Regions from separate parts of the Homo sapiens genome. Here region 1 is linked to region 2. Evidence: promoter capture Hi-C in human tissues and cell types (Jung and others, 2019). All regions are on one chromosome and are shown on one strand. The core of a region is centred on a gene start or on the middle of the fragment in contact, and the rest is flanking DNA. Distances in the headings are between cores, read along the strand shown. Region 1 overlaps INTS6 (integrator complex subunit 6). Region 2 holds the start of FAM124A (family with sequence similarity 124 member A).

Region 1 (2,700 bases), core at 99-2,598, 180 kb before region 2:
GAGCACAGTGTTTAAGAGCCAGACTTACCTGGGTTTGAATTCTGTCTCCTCACCACTTACTGTGTACCTTCAGACAAGTCCTGAAGCTCTCTGTTTGTTGTTTGTAAATGAGGACTATAATAGTGCCTATCTCATATGTTTATTTTGTGGGTTAAATGAATTAATATATATAACGGGTTTAGAATAACTTGCGCCTTCTAATAGTAACCACTATAAAAGTATTATTGTTATTAATGGCTATATTTTTTAAAGCATCATTAGTTCAGACACTTCCATTTGAATACTCATACTAGAGTTTCTTGGGATTAACTCTCAGAAAACAGCTCTTATGAAACTCTTATCCCATCCAGTGTTCAGAAATAAAAATCCTATTAAATATCTTGTTAGCTAGTACTGTGATTCTCAGTTTTCTTCTTTCTGTTAAATACAGCTCTGAAACAGATTCCTTCAGGAACATGATCCTTCTGTTTAGAACTCTTAAAGTACTGGGTGTATTTTATTATTTATCTTTAAATCCTCAGAGCCTAAACATACCTAATATTTGGTAGGTACATAAAAAATGATGAGTGAATGCATATATAGTTTTCAGGAAGTAGTCTACCTTCTTGCAGTGTATTTTAATGGCTGATCAAGAATAACTCTTTGTTAGGGGTCCTTACAAATGTCTGAGCTTTGGAGTTAGTAATTACTGTACTTAATCTTTCTCTTGTTCAGTTGAGGCATATAGGAAGTTTTCTTGTCTTTGGTTTTGTATAAAATAATGACATTATTGGAAAAGAGGTACAGATAACTACTTGAATAATTTACTGGCTTTTGACAATTATCTTCATATTAATATGTTTCAGTACTTTGGATAAGAATAAGGAATATAAAAGTTTCTGCCATATTTGCCTTGTTCTTTTTGTTTTGGATTTTAAAAAATTTAATAAGTGAAACAGAACATTGCAGATTGATAGTGTGTAGTCTCCCTTGTTCCCCTACTCAGTGTCACTTTCCTCCCTCTTTCCCTTCCCGTAATCAACAATTGCAAATTTGATTTATAGTCATTTAGTCCACATTTTCTTATTTTTACTACACATATCTAAAACTATTCTAAACATTGTTTACTTTTAACAATGTGTAGAGATGCTATTCTGTGCATCATTTTGCATCTTGCCTTTTTTTCCTTCCATGTAATACTGTTTTTGACACAGAAATAGACTACCACGTGTACAGTCACCCGATATAAGAAAGAGGTGACATTCTAGTGCAGCATAGAAAGGATGGCCTGTATCAATTGGATATCCATTTGGGAAAAAAAATGTATCTTTGCCCCTATTTTGGACCATACTCCAAACTCAATTTCAGATGTATTTCAGGTTTGATTTTAAGTGGGAAAATAATAAGCTTTTAGAAGAAAACATGGGAGAGCATCTTCATTATCTATGAGGAAACAAAAAGCACTAACTGTGAAAGGAAAAATATATTTAGATAACTTCTGTTTATCAAAAGATACCACTAAAATAATGGAAGAGGTAACAGAGTAGAAGATATTTGCAATACTATAATGTATCCAATAAAGCAGCTGTCCCCAACCTTTTTGGCACCAGGGACTGGTTTCCTGGAAGAAAGACAGTTCTTCTGTGGACATGGGTGGGTATGGTTTTGGAATGAAACTGTTCCACCTCAGATTATCAGGCATTATTTAGATTCTCAAATAAGGAGCGCACAACCTAGATTCCTTGCATGTGCAGTTCACAATAGGGTTCATGCTCCTATGAGAATCTAATGCCACTGCTGATCTGACAGGAGGTGGAGCTCAGGCAGTAATGCTTGCTTGCCCACTGCTCACTTCCTGCTGTGTGGCCCCATTCCTTAACAGGCCACAGACTTGGGGATCCCTGCAATAAAAGACATCTGGAATAGATTAACAATCCTCCAAATCAATAAGAGAAAGCTAGACAACCCAATTAAAAATAATAAGCAGAAGACTTTAATAGTCACTTCACAAAAGAGCACGTTGAAATGGCCAATAAGCGTATGAAAAGGTATTCCACTTCCATAAACATCAGGGAAATTAAAACCCCACCCCACTACACACACGCACACACACGCACACACACACACACCCACAATGGCTAACATGAAAAAGACAGCCAAAACTAAGTGTTGATGAAGGAGATACAGAGCAACTGGTTCTGTTATACGCTGCTAGTAGGAGTATAAATTGGTATAACCACTTTGGAAAACTGGCAGTATCTGATGAAAGTAAACATATTCATATCCAGCAATTCCACAACTAGGTATATACTCAACAGAAATGCATACATATATTTTCCACAAATACATGTACTGTAATTTCATAGTTACACTATTCATAACATACCCAAACAATTCAAAAGGATAATTACGGAGTTTGAGGCCAGACTGGTGAAGATCCCTTCTCTACAAAATATTAAAAAGTGAGCTGAGTGTGGTGGCACGTGCCTGTAGTCCTACCTACTTGGGAGGCTGAGGCAGGAAGATCTCTTGAGTCTAGGAGTTTGAGGGTGCAGTGAACTATGACCATGTGACTGCATTCCAGCCTGGGTGACAGAACAAGAGCTTGTCTCTAAAAAATAAAACTAATTATGATATACAGATAAACAATATGGCAATAGGAATGAACGATCTACCATTGTATGTAGCAGTATAGGTGATTCTTACCTTTACAATGATGAA
Region 2 (2,700 bases), core at 149-2,648:
GGGAAGAAGAAAGGAAGTTTGGCATTTAGCATCAGGTTACTCCACCAGATTATAATTGGGTGCTGTAGAGAGCTATGAATAAGTTTGGATAACAGAGAAAGCCCATTGCTGGGTGAATGCCCTAGGGAGTAAAGTCCCGCATTTGGGCTAGGAGTGGTGGGGCAGGAGGGGCCCTGTGGGGAGCTTTGCCGGGGTTGGGTTAGAACTCTGGGTCGATCGTGGGCCTGGATTCTCTACCTGCCCTCACAGGGTTGCCAAATCCTGAGATTAGTCTAAAACCTCTCCGACCTTCCAGGAATGAGGCTTTCTGTAGTCTAGGCAGCTCCCGCCCTCCCCCAGGATTACTCCAGATAGGAAAAAACACCCTTTCCTCCTGGGTCAGTACCCGCGGCCTGGATGTGGTGCTGACTCTGCACAGGAAAGTCCTTTAGAGACAGAGGCTGCCTGGAAGCCTTTATAACGACATTCATCTCCTAAAAGGCATTTTGTCTTTTCTTCCGCTCAGGAAAACAGTGTTTGGAGACTAACTAATTAGTCTCCAAAGGTTTGAGCCCATTGTTTGAGTCCGCTGAAGCGAAGAGAATATTAAAAAAAAAAAAAGGCAGGGCTAGATCCTAATCCCAACACCATCTCCATCCCGCCGGTACAACAGGCCAAAGGGTCCAGCTGGGACAGGTGCACTTAGAGGTGAGGAAGTTCGGCGGGACTGGAGGAGTCGGGGAGGGGGACTCGGCAGCACAGATTAAAGTCCCACGATGAAGCCATATAACGAGAAATGCCATCCTCCTAGCCGACTTCGGAAAGACTTTTAGGTGCGGGTGTCCCACCCTGCTTTTCTTCCTCTCCCGATCTCCAGGGCCGGACTCCAGGGGGCTCCGGAGCTACAGGAGGAAAGTCCCCGAGGAAGGAGGAAACAAGTGCAAGAGCATCTCCTGTCTCTAGCGATGCAGACAAGGGGTCTTTGCATCCGCCTGGCGCTCTGCATCGCCTCACAGGATGGGTGGGCTTGCACTGAACCTTGAGTCCTTCCACTTTCCTCCCCCCGGGTGGTGCCCGCCCTGCCCAGGGCAGCGCGGCCCGCCCAGGAGAGAGCGGGGGATCCGGCAGGAGGAGAAGCCCCGCGCCCCGGTCCCGTCGCACGGATCAGGAGGGTCCCCGTCCGGGGAGGAGCCGCCGCGCAACTCGGAGAGCGCCCCCCGCCCGCGGCCCGGCCCGGCGCGGCTCACCCTCCGGTCTCGGCGCCCGAGTCCACGCAGTCGTCCTCCTCGCCGCCGCCGCCCGCCTTTGGGTCCATGGTGCACGTCCCGGCCGCGCTCGGCTTGCGGGCGCCGTCGTGACCCGGGGCGCCCTCCCTCCCGGCCGCCCAGTCCGAGCCGGCCGGGCTCCCTCCGAGCGTCTGGCGGCCCGGGAGCCGGCAAACAACTCAAGCGCCAGCCGCGAACCCCGCGCCGCGCCCTCTCCCGACCGCGCCCGGCTGGGCACCCGCGCCTGCGCCCGCGCCCGCCCCGCCCCTCGCCGTCCGGCGGGACCCGCGTGTGCGCGCGGCGGTGCGCGGGGAGTGCGCGTGCGAGCGCGTGTGCGAGCGCGTGGGGGGCGTGTGAGCGTGAGTGGCCGAGGTGTGTGGTCTCACACCCGTGCGTCTGTGCATGCGGTGTGATGTGGGTGCGGTGTGCACTCCTGGTTGCACGCGACTGTGGCTGTGCTGAGCGCGTGTGCCCGTCTGTGGTGCGTGACCGCGTGTGTGTTGTGGGGGCGGGGTAAGTGTGCACACGAGAGCCGCCTCTCTCCCCCAGGCCCACAGTCCGGGAATCCCGAGCCCCAGGGCTTGCCACGAGGTTCCCCACCTCCTGATCTGGGAGGAGCACTGAGAAAACCAACCTCAGCGCATCGTGAAAGCTGGGAAGGATTTGTTTCCCTTTTGGGACCAATTCGAACACCTGGGTGTTTTCTTATAGTTTCTGAAGAATTGCTGACGCCAAATTCATTATCACCTTTCTCAGTACACGTCTGAGCGGCATCCCACCCCCTCAACTTGCCAGTTTACAATAGGTGTCATGCATTCTTTTGCTACTTAAAAAAAAAAAAGCCTTTAAAAATAATTTAAAGAGCATTGAATGAACCTGCAATTCACGGGTTGTTGCAGCAAGGGGATAACCTTAGGGTGAGTTAATGATCGCTATTGGAGGGGCTCACCTCCTATTAGGAGGGTGAAGAGGGAGGCAAGTTGGCAGGGCGGGCGGAAGGAGACTTCGAACAACTTGAATTTAGTTCTGACAGCCCTATCCAAACCATTGGGAGGAATTGTCCTTACTGAGCCTAAAATTTCTTGCACCCCAAACAGCAATGGACATATTGGTGGGCATTAGCTGAAAGAAAGGAGCGTGCCAGTTCTTCAAGGGAGATTCCCCTGCCCATTTTTTATCTTGCAGCCAGGAGGGAACCTGCCTTTATTTACTCTGTGTGGGAACAATTCAAACTGTGCCTCATTTGATCCTCAGGGAAGTGCTGTGAAACAGGCTTACTTTTCTATTTTACCGTCAAGGAAACTAAACCCTACCGAGTTCGAGTGCCTGGTCCCAGGACACCCTATCAGTGAGCAGGGAAGCCAGGTAGTCCACTTAAGGTAGCTGGAGCCTGTGCCACTTACCTAGAAGGCTGATGAGTGGGCCAGTTGTATCCTCAGGAAGATGGTACTAAGGA

What was found. The method cuts DNA at HindIII sites, captures the fragments that hold promoters and counts their contacts. A contact is called where the count stands out against the background at its distance.
Region 1: a fragment that was not itself captured here is called in contact with the fragment with the promoter of FAM124A in region 2 in 1 of the 25 tissues and cell types used here (hippocampus).

Annotation. Positions count from the first base shown.
Region 1 is chr13:51,399,116-51,401,815 of GRCh38, reverse strand. All of the region lies in intron 4 of INTS6 (integrator complex subunit 6), which reads left to right. Among named protein-coding and RNA genes, the nearest start is that of MIR5693, 52 kb to the right of the region's middle. The HindIII fragment of the contact is 4,892 bases long and covers 1-2,700 here.
Region 2 is chr13:51,221,096-51,223,795 of GRCh38, reverse strand. FAM124A (family with sequence similarity 124 member A) reads right to left here and starts at 1,398. Exons shown (of 4, transcript NM_001242312.2): 1 at 1,227-1,398. The coding sequence starts at 1,294. RefSeq lists silencers at 1,450-1,509, 1,630-1,679 and an enhancer at 1,460-2,250. The HindIII fragment of the contact is 11,319 bases long and covers 1-2,700 here.